4 separate regions of the Homo sapiens genome follow, and regions 1, 2 and 3 are each linked to region 4. The links are contacts of gene promoters, found by promoter capture Hi-C in human tissues and cell types (Jung and others, 2019). All regions are on one chromosome and are shown on one strand. The core of a region is centred on a gene start or on the middle of the fragment in contact, and the rest is flanking DNA. Distances in the headings are between cores, read along the strand shown. Region 1 has its middle 52 kb from the start of LRRC30. Region 2 overlaps LAMA1 (laminin subunit alpha 1). Region 3 has its middle 42 kb from the start of LAMA1. Region 4 holds the start of LAMA1 (laminin subunit alpha 1).

Region 1 (2,700 bases), core at 16-2,515, 61 kb after region 4:
CCTTAGCGACATAATGGGGGTAGTACCTGCTCACACTAGCTAACAGGAACCCTGTGAAGGGAGCACAAATTCAGATTTAAACCTCATTTTATTGCAGATTTTTACAGGCAGAATAAAAAACTGTAGGTGAAAATATTAATTATCAATTAGGAAGAAGTTACATAACATATTGGTTATTCTTTTTGTAACTGAAAGACTTTATACTATCATGCATACATTTAAATAATGAAATCTGAATAAACACAGATAAAAGTGAATCTAATTATCTTAAAACACTCACTCAACATCAAAATATAATCTCCAGGGTTTATTAAAAGAATAGCTTATTTTGCTAGACTACTGGTAAGAACAAAATATTATTGTGTCCGGAATTGGTGGGTTCTTGATCTCACTGACTTCAAGAATGAAGCTGCGGACCCTCGCGGTGAGTGTTACAGCTCTTAAGGTGGCGCGTCTGGAGTTTGTTCCTTCTGATGTTCGGAGTTTCTTCCTTCTGGTGGGTTTGTGGTCTCGCTGGCTCAGGAGTGAAGCTGCAGACCTTGGTAGTGAGTGTTACAGCTCTTAAGGCGGCGCATCTGGAGTTGTTCGTTCTTCCCGGTGGGCTCTGGGCTCGTGGTCTCGCTGGCTTCAGGAGTGAAGCTGCAGACCTTTGTGGTGAGTGTTACAGCTCATAAAGGCAGTGTGGACCCAAAGAGTGAGCAGTAGCAAGATTTATTGCAAAGAGTGAAAGAACAAAGCTTCCACAGTGTGGAAGAGGACCCGAGTGGGTTGCCACTGTTGGCTCGGGCAGCCTGCTTTTATTCTCTTATCTGGCCCCACCCACATCCTGCTGATTGGTAGAGCCCAGTGGTCTGTTTTGACAGGGTGCTGATTGGTGCATTTACAATCCCTGAGCTAGATACAAAGGTTCTCCACCTCCCCATCAGATTAGTTAGATACAGAGTATCCACACGAAGGTTCTCCAAGGCCCCACCAGAGCAGCTAGATACAGAGTGTCAATTGGTGCACTCACAAACCTTGAGCTAAACACAGGGTGCTGATTGGTGTGTTTACAAACCTTGAGCTAGATACAGAGTGCCGATTGGTGTATTTACAATCCCTGAGCTAGACATAAAGGTTCTCCAAGGGCCCACCAGAGCAGCTAGATACAGAGTGTCGATTGGTGCACTCACAAACCCTGAGCTAGACATGGGGTGCTGATTGGTGTGTTTACAATCCCTGAGCTAGACATAAAGACTCTCCACGTCCCCACCAGACTCAGGAGCCCAGCTGACTTCAACCAGTGGATCCCCCACCGGGGCCACAGGTGGAGCTGCCTGCCAGTCCTGTGCCATGCACTCGCACTCCTCAGCCCTTGGGCAGTCGATGGGACTGGGCACCGTGGAGCAGGGGGAGGCGCTCGTCGGGGAGGCTCGGGCCGCACAGGAGCCCATGGAGTGGGTGGGAGGCTCAGGCATGGCGGGCTGCAGGTCCGAGCCCTGCCCCGCGGGAAGGCAGCTAAGGCCCAGTGAGAAATCAAGCGCAGTGCCAGTGGGCCGGCACTGCTGGGGGACCCAGTGCACCCTCCGCAGCCACTGGCCCGGGTGCTAAGTCCCTCATTGCCCGGGGCCAGCAGGGCCGGCTGGCTGCTCCGAGTGTGGGGCCCGCCAAGCCCACGCCCACCCGGAACTCCAGCTGGCCCGCGAGCGCCGCACGCCGCCCTGGTTCCCCCTCGCGCCTTTCCCGCCACACCTCCCTGCAAGCTGAGGGAGCCGGCTCTGGCCTTGGCCAGCCCAGAAAGGGGCTCCCACAGTGCAACGGTGGGCTGAAGGGTTCCTCAAGTGCCGCCAAAGTGGGAGCCCAGGCAGAGGAGGTGCCGAGAGCAAGCGAAGGCTCTGAGGACTGCCAGCACTCTGTCACCTCTCATTATAACTTAATTTTCATGAGAAATTAATAAATATGGCTCAATAACTGCCATTAATACGTTTGGGGAAAATGATGAAATGCCAAGAAAAGAAAAACGTATCCAATTTTTCTTTTCAAAACTTTCTCTGAGTCTGAACCAGGCTTAGAAGACATTTGTGACATCAATTACTGCCTTTCCTAGTTGCCTCACTCATCTAAATGGAAAATTATTCTGCATAATTCTGAGTTAATATGAGACAAGAGAAAAAATATACCCAGAAGACTTTGAAAGTTAAACTGAAAGAGACCCAAAGGCCAAATTACTCAGAGACACAAGTTGTATGGAGAAATCAAGTCAATAAAGATTTGATGGCCTGGCACAGTGGCTCACGCCTTTAGTCTTAGCACTTCAGGAGGCTGAGGTGGGCGGATCACAAGGTCAAGAGATCGAGACCATCCTGGCCAACATGGTGAAACCCTGTCTCTACTAAAAATGCAAAAATTAGCTGGGCGTGGTGGCGCATGCCTGTGGTCCCAGCTACTCGAGAGGCTGAGGCAGGAGAATCACTTTAACCCGGGAGGCAGAGGTTGCAGTGAGCTGAGATCGCACCACTGTATTCCAGCCTGGTGACAGAGTGAGACTTTGTCTAAAAAAAAAGATTGTGGAGAAGGTTTGACAGAGGAGAAATCACGTCTTCAGACTCTACCAGTACTGAATATGAACGTGTGCTAATGTTATTCATCCACAGTCTAACTGCATTCACTTACCATATTAGATGCAAGCTACCACCAAAGCAAACTGAGAAATGTAAGCCA
Region 2 (2,700 bases), core at 201-2,700, 53 kb before region 4:
TATGCATACAATGGAATATTATTCAGTCTTTAAAAGGAAGGAAATTGTAATACATGCTACAACATAGATAAGCCTTGAGGACATTATGTACGCTAAGTGAAATAAGCCAGACAAAAGGACAAATAGAATATGATTCCACTTATGTAAGCTTGATTACCCAGAGTAATCAAATTCATAGACAAAAGCTGAATGGAGGCTACCCAGGGCTGGGGGAAGAGAGGAACGTGGAGTTGGTGTTTAAGGGGTACAGAGTTTCTGTTTGGGAAGATGAAAAAGTTCTGGGGATGGATGGTGGTGACGGTTGCACAATATACTTAATGCCACTGTACTGTACACTTAAAAATGGTTAAAATGGCTCCCACTGCAGCCTCAAGTGCCCCTGTCCCACCTGGCTCCCCCTGCTGATGTCTAGTGTTTTTTTCTCTCCTGTCTTTGTATTGAAGGCAGGAAACAAGGGTGTCAAGCCCCCATTCCCTCCCTACTCTGACAGCAGGATTGGATGTTGTGTATTGTGGATTTTTTTTTGTTTATTTTGTTCTGAAATTAAAGTATGCAAAATAGAGAATATGCCATTTTTAATACAAAAAAAGGTTACAATGGTAAATTTTATGATATGCATATTTTATAATAACACCCCCTCCAAAAAAAAAGAGATGAAAAGTGAATGGTATGAAGATTCAACCTTGTGAAAGACTGAGCTGTCTAAGTTGAAAATGAGTAGGAATGTAGTATTTCTAGGCAGGGGCCAACTCCATAGAAACCAATTAAGTCAGTGGAGGTCAAGCAAACAGCTCCGAGGGGATGTTTGAAATCTTATCTTTCTCATGACCTGATTTCGGTCACATTCTTACTGAGCTCTGGCAAGGCATGATGATACTTCACAAAATACAAAACCAGAGCCCCAAACTCAGGACTTTACAGTGAAAGACCCATTGTTCACACAATGCTTTCTCCTTGGTGGCATTTCCTGAACAGCAAGTTCGGGCAGCCCCATTTCTTGCCTGGCTCAGTCTATAAGACTGATACAAGACTGGTATAAAGTTGTAAATGATTCTAAATATTGTTCATCCCACTAGAGACCTACTAAGTGGTTATTTAACTGACATTTTTTTGTGCTTCCTTCATATGAAGAACACAGATAAATATCTTCTGATTACATACCATTAAATAGTAGGAAAAGCAAAAATTCTTAAATTATATGATTGACAATTCTCATGATCGTCTTGTAAATACTACGGAGGAAAAGGTCTTAGAAACTGTTGAACTGCACTGGATCAGTCACTTGCTCTTAAAAGGGTGATTAAGAATAGCCAAGGCCGGGCGCAGTGGCTCACGCCTGTAATCCCAGCACTTTGGGAGGGGGGCAGGTGGATCACAAGGTCAGGAGATCAAGACCATCCTGGCTAACAGGGTGAATCCTCGTCTCTACTAAAAATACAAAAAATTAGCCAGGCATAGTGGCACGTGCCTGTAGTCCCAGCTACTCAGGAGGCTGAGGCAGGAGAATCACTTGAACTCGAGAGGCGGAGGTTGCAGTGAGCTGAGATTGCGCCACTGCACTCCAGCCTGGGTGACAGAGTGAGACTCTATCTCAAAAAAAAAAAAAAAAAAAAACAACGACTAGCCAAAATTTGATCCAAAAACTATTGTACAGAGGGGTGTGGGGGAATTCTCTGTACTTTACATTCAATTTTTCTGTAAACCTAAAACTTCTCTAAAAAATAGTCTATTATTTTTTAAAACAAGAAAACAATTACACATATTCTAGTAATTCTCAACTGATAAGAAAGCTTATGTTGGCCAGGTATGGTGGCTCACACCTGTAATCCCAGCACTTTGGGAGGCCAAGGTAGGTGAATCACTTATCACTTGAGGCCAGGAGTTCGAGACCAGCCTGGGCAGCATGGCAAAACCTCATCTCTACTAAAAATTCAAAAATTAGCCAGGTGTGGTGGCACGCACCTGTAGTCCCAGCTACTCGGGATGCCGAAGCACAAGAATGGCTGGAACGGAGGAGGCAGAGATTGCAGTGAGCTGAGATCGCACCGTTGCACTCCAGCTTGGGTGACAGAGTGAGACTCTGTCTCAAAAATCAGCCCAGTTGGCTGAACAGAAGCGAATAAGTATAATAGTTTTAAAGCTTTACCAAATTTCCCGGGCTATCTCAGTTTGTACAGCTATGCCATCCAGCTAATTATTTGCAGGTTTAAATTTGACCTCACAGTTTTCCTAGCTTCATTTCCGAAACAGTCAGGCCAGAGCGAGTCAGTGCTTTCTAAGTGCCTGCATACAAATTGCAAAGAGACCACAGGTCTGAGGAGGTGCACGGCATCAACAGGCAGCTGTCCCAGTCACTAAGAAGTCTCTACCTTCAGTGCACTTTGGCAGCCTGGTCATCTCACCAAAACCAATGCTTTCAGAGTCAGAATTCCACAATCACCCATATTCCCCTGGAAAAAGGTAGTGATAGGTGAGTAATATATTTTTAATTTCCTATAGCCTAGAGAACTTTAAAACTACATTGAATGTTTTCCATGATTTAGGCTTAAAACGACAAATCCAGAGGATGTATTCTCTACATCCCAGTGCATATTCGTGAATGACGTGGATACAAATCGACACATTTTTCAGATTTTTCATGTAAGCATAAGATGAAATAATGAACAGGAAAGCACTTTATAAAATGCACAATACAGAGGT
Region 3 (2,700 bases), core at 143-2,642, 42 kb after region 4:
TTTTAAATCTGTAAAACGGGATCCCTAATGCCTGTCTAGAAAAGTTGTTATCATTAAGTATGATATCCATAAGTATTATATATATATAATAGATAATCAGGAAGTTATGTTTGTTATTATCTCTATGTTACTTTCTCTATGTCTGTACCTGTATTTGTGTCTATGTCTATATCTATATGTTATAGCTTTATCTACATGAATCTATATATGGAGTAAACTTATTTATGTTAAGAGCTTTATTGAGATATAATTTATATACAATTAAATCCATTTATTTTTTAAGAGTACAACTCAATGACTTTTAATAGTAAATTTACTAGTTATGCAACCATTGTTACAATAATGTTAAAACATTTTTATCACCCCCCCAGAAAAAACCTCATGGACATTTGCACTCACTAGAGTAAACTCTTTACCAAGACATTTACACTCATGAAAAGTTTTGTTAGAATTTTGTATGAAAAAAAATTTTTTTTCTTTTTATTTTTTTGAGAGGGAGTCTCACTCTGTCACCAGGCTGGAGTGCAGTGGCACAATCTCAGCTCACTGCAACCTCTGCCTCCCAGGTTCAAGCAATTCTCCTGCCTCAGCCTCCTGAGTAGCTGGGACCACAGGCACACGCCACTATGCCCAGGTAATTTTTGTATTTTTAGTACAGATGGGGTTTCACCATGTTGGCCAGGATGGTCTCGATCTCTTGACCTCATGATCCGCCTGCTTCAGCCTCCCAAAGTGCTGGGATTACAGGTGTGAGCCACTACACCCAGCAAAAAAAATTTTAAAGTGATTAGTTTATATATATATATATATATATATATATATATATATATATATATATATTTAAATTATACTTTAAGTTCTAGGGTACATGTGCACAACGTGCAGGTTTGTTACATGTGTATACATGTGCCATGTTGGTGTGCTGCACCCATTAACTCGTCATTTACATTAGGTATCTCTCCTAATGCTATCCCTCCCCCCTCCCCCCTTTATTTGTGAGATGTGAGATGATGAACTTAATACAAATTCAAAAGGAAAAAAGGAGTATACAAGTGATGTCTCCCTCAGGGTTTCTCTCAGTTAACATTAGTTGCCTCTAAAAAGAACTGCTTGAAATCCCAGAGAGGTAGACAGAGATTTTAAACTCAAGGATGTATGCTGATTTTATCAAATTCTTTTTCGTCATCTAGAAGTGTGCTGTTCAATAAGGTAACCATTACCTCCTGTGGCTGGCTCACAAACACTTGAAATTTGGCTAGTGTGATTGAGGAACTGAATTTTTAATTTAATTTTAATTAAACTAAATTTTAAGACTGATAATTCAGTTACTGAAAAACTCAAGTATGTTTGCAACTTGGATATATACACCTACTTTTTTGTATCATAAACTTCACTAAATCTTAATGCAGATCAAGCTTTTCCAATGAAAATTTTGTGTCTGAATTGCGGTGAGCTAGGACAGTACATTTTAGATATATTGGGTTAAATAAAATATCATTAAAATTTGTTTTATCTGTTGCTTTTTACTTATTTGAAATGTGGCTTCTAGAATATCTAAAATTACCCACGTGGTTCACTTTATCTTCCTATTGGACATGCTGCTCTAGAGAGATATCATATGCTTTTTCTCATTTTATCTATTATTATGGTGAAATATATTAGTGTATTTTCTAATAATTTTTCTCTTTTTGCATTTCTGGCATAACCACCACTTGGTCATGGCATTCTGAATTATTTACCATAATTCTTTATTCTTTATTTAGCTCCTTTGGCCTTAATATTCATATGTAAGATTGGTCTTTAGTTTTATTGGGCTATCATCACACATCTGGAAGCTGTTCCTGTCTAGTCTTGACATTATTTAAATAACATAGAAGATATTGTTCTTTGGGCCCGGCGTGGTGGCCCATGCACTTTGGGAGGCTGAGGCGGGTGGATCACTTGAGGTCAGGAGTTCGAGACTAGCCTGGCCAACACGGTGAAACCCTATTTCTACTCAAAATACAAAAAATTAGCCGGGTGTGGTGGCTCATGCCTGTAATCCCAGCTACTCAGGAGGCTGAGACAGGAGAATCACTTGAACCTGGAAGGCAGAGGTTGTAGTGAGCCAAGATCGTGCCATTGCACTCCAGCCTGGACAACAGAGTGAGACTTCATCTCAAAAAAAAAAAAAAAAAAAAAGGCCGGGGGCAGTGGCTCACGCCTGTAAACCCAGCATTTTGGGAGGCCGAGGTGGGCGTCACGAGGTCAGGAGATCAAAACCATCCTGGCTAACACGGTGAAACCCCGTCTCTACTAAAAAATACAAAAAAATTTAGCCGGGTGTGATGGTGGGTGCCTGTAGTCCCAGCTACTCAGGAGGCTGAGGCAGGAGAATGTTGTGAACCCGGGAGGCGGAGCTTGCAGTGAGCGGAGATCGCACCACTGCACTCCAGCCTGGGCGACAGAGTGAGACTCCGTCTCAAAAAAAAAAAAAAAAAAAATGGGACCTTAGAGAGATGATTAGGTGATAAGGGCTCTGCTCTCACGAAGGAATTAATGTCATTATCTCAGGAATGGGATTTTCATAAGTTAGGGAGTTCTGCCCACTTTTTCTCCCTCTCTCTCAGTGTCTCTCACCACATGATGCCCTTCTGCCATCTTAGGATGCAGCAAGAAGGCCCTTGCCAGATGCAGCTTTCAGTCTTGGACGTCCCAGCT
Region 4 (2,716 bases), core at 176-2,675:
TTTCTTCTGGCTGATAACTATGTAAATTCCCTCTTCCCAGCCTGGCTCTGCGCAGCAGACTCGCAGCTATTCAATGCTGCGTTTCCAGCTCCGGTCCAGTGCTTCCATCATGAATGCTTGAATGAATGAGATGGTCGCGTTTCTGCAGAGCTCACAACTCAGCACAATGCCCAAACACACGTTTCCCACGAGGGCACTGCAAATTCCGCCCACTACTTTTGACTCGAATTTTTTTTTAATGAAGTTTATATTCGTGGGAATACGCCCATTGTCATGTGCTGCATACATTAAGATGTTTTCAACAAATATTTGTGACTGCCTAGCCAACACGAAGCCACGCTGCGAAGACAGCTCTAGGGGTGGCGTGGGTGACTAGGGTTGTCCCCCAAAAGGGAAAAGAATTCTTTCTTTCTTTTTCTTTCTTTCTCTCTCTTTCTTTTCTCTTTCTCTCTCTCTTTCTTTCTTCTCTCTCTCTCTCTTTCCGCCCGCCCGCAAAAACAGAAAATGAAAATTCGCTCTGAGTTTCTCTTCTCAATCCTTGCAACGCGCATGCAAGGTGCTCCCTTCTCCGCTGGTCCCTCGCCCCGGCGCGCCCACGGTCAATCCCGCGCAGTGAATGAGCGGGTTTGGCCACTTCGCCTATTGCACAAAAAGCGCGGGTCGGGAAGGCGCATCAGTGCCCTGGACGCCGCCTGCGGGTCCCCCTGCCCGGGACGGCTGGCTAGGGGCGCCCTTCTCGCCGCGTCTCTCCCCACTAGCCCGCTTGGCTGCCAGGGGCCCCGAGGAATCCGCCCTTTCCCGGCCGCCGCGACCCAGCTTGCGCAGCCGGACAATGAGGGCGACTCGGGAGAGCTCTTTCTCCATTCATCCCCCGCGCCCGGCCAACAGCCCCGCCACCCCCGCCCGCGCAGCCGGGGCACTAAAAGCAACCCCCGGCGCCCCGCTCCGGGCGCCCCGCTCCCGCCACCCCCAGCACTGCTCGCGTAGATGGCGCTCCTGGGTCGCGAAGTCCCGCAAAAGCCAGAGGCGAGGCTGGGCTTTAACCCCAAAGCCCGAGGAGGTTAAAGCCTAAGCCTGCAAAGAGCGGGCAGCGTCCGGCAGGAGCGGCGTCCCCATCCAGCCCTCCCCGGCAAGCGCGGGAGACCCACGTGGCCGAGACACCCACTCCGAGGTGGATCAGGATGCGCGCCCGGACTCCAGCAGCCCCAACGCGACGGGCTTTGTCCGCGGCCGCCCCCGCCCGCCCGCCTGCGGGGGACAGGGACCCTAGGACCCGGGCCGGGCTCACCTCTCTGCCGGCACTGCGCGGCGACACACAGCAGCAAGACCAGGAGCACGCCCCCGCGCATCTCGCCTCCGCCGCCACTCGGTGGGTCTGGGGAGAAAGCCGCGCGCCCGCCTGGAACGCTCCACGGGACGCGAGTCCGCGCTGCCCTGGCCCCGCCGCTCCTGGAGTCCTGCCGCCCCTCCCTCCAGCCGCCCTCGGACACACCCCTCGGCTGCGCCCCGCCCCGCCCCGTCCCGCCCCGGCTTGGCCCCGCCACCCAGACCCCTCCCCCGGGGGCGCCCAGCTTGGCCTCTGGGTCCCGGCGCACGCGGACCCCAAGTCGGGGAGGCCGGGCTGACCGCGGCCGCCTCCCCGGCTCCGGGTAGGAGGTGGGCAGAGAAGGTGGGCTGAGGGGAGGAGAAACTGGGCTGCGGGGGTCCGGGAGGGTGGATTCCGAGAAACTATGTGCCCAGCTGACCCTGCCCGCCCCGCCGCGGCCCTGCAGTCCCCGGGCCAGGACCCACGCGCCCCTGCCAGGAGCTGGGCGAGAGGCGACCCCTCGGGAAGCCACCCAGGCTCGGCCGACCCGCCGCCCTTTCCGCCGTGGGCAGAGGACTTGAGGATTTTTTCTGAAAATGAGTTGCAACTTGTTCCCGACTTTGTTTGCCTAAAGAAGGCAAGGTCACTTGGACTTAATTATTATAATTAGATACCCTTACTGCTGGAGAGAGAGGACGCGCTCCTGACACGCAACTTCAACTGCTGTTATTATAATTATTATTATTTTAAAACTATGTCTGGTCCCCGATAAAGAATTTTTAATTTCCTCTGATTTTTTTTTTCTATCAAAAGTATTGGATGGGTGCAGTGGCTCACGCCTGTAATTCCAGCACTTTGGGAGGCCGAGGCGGGTGGATCACTTGAGGTCAGGAGTTCGAAACCAGCCTGGCCATCATGGTGAAACCTCGTCTCTACTAAAAACATACAAAAATTAGCTGGGTGTGGTGGCACGCGCTTGCAGTCCCAGCTACTTGGGAGGCTGAGGCAGGAGAATTGCTTGAACCCGGGAGTGGGAGGTTGCAGTGAGCTGAGATCACACCAGCTGCACTCCAGCCTGGGCGACAGAGCGAGACTCTGTCTCAAAAAAGAAAAAAAAGGTATTCATAACACTTTGTAGATTTCACATTTTCTCAATATAAATATACAGGGACAATATCTCATTATCATCCCACCATCTTATTTTGCAGGGTTTTTTTTTCTTGATAGGAAGATAATTTCCTCTCACTTGTGTGAATCTATTTGACAACTCTATCAATTCCTGTTTTTCTGAGGACACTTCCTTACACATCTAGTGAGTAGAACTTAGTTATAGTACTTAGCCATCGATTAATTTTTAAAAATCATGGAACAAAATGATAGTTTGGCCGTTTTAAAAGGATGCAATATAGT

What was found. Contacts are between HindIII fragments. The study calls those that stand out against the background at their distance.
Region 1: a contact is called between a fragment that was not itself captured here and the fragment with the promoter of LAMA1 in region 4, in 1 of the 25 tissues and cell types used here (aorta).
Region 2: a fragment that was not itself captured here is called in contact with the fragment with the promoter of LAMA1 in region 4 in 4 of the 25 tissues and cell types used here (H1 embryonic stem cells, bladder, ovary and 1 more).
Region 3: a contact is called between a fragment that was not itself captured here and the fragment with the promoter of LAMA1 in region 4, in 1 of the 25 tissues and cell types used here (IMR-90 fibroblasts).

What each region holds. Positions count from the first base shown.
Region 1 is chr18:7,177,326-7,180,025 of GRCh38, forward strand. No RefSeq gene overlaps it. Among named protein-coding and RNA genes, the nearest start is that of LRRC30, 52 kb to the right of the region's middle. The HindIII fragment of the contact is 9,943 bases long and covers 1-2,700 here.
Region 2 is chr18:7,063,640-7,066,339 of GRCh38, forward strand. All of the region lies in intron 3 of LAMA1 (laminin subunit alpha 1), which reads right to left. Among named protein-coding and RNA genes, the nearest start is that of LAMA1, 53 kb to the right of the region's middle. The HindIII fragment of the contact is 4,804 bases long and covers 1-2,700 here.
Region 3 is chr18:7,158,731-7,161,430 of GRCh38, forward strand. No RefSeq gene overlaps it. Among named protein-coding and RNA genes, the nearest start is that of LAMA1, 42 kb to the left of the region's middle. The HindIII fragment of the contact is 5,564 bases long and covers 1-2,700 here.
Region 4 is chr18:7,116,372-7,119,087 of GRCh38, forward strand. LAMA1 (laminin subunit alpha 1) reads right to left here and starts at 1,426. Exons shown (of 63, transcript NM_005559.4): 1 at 1,289-1,426. The coding sequence starts at 1,349. The HindIII fragment of the contact is 17,081 bases long and covers 1-2,716 here.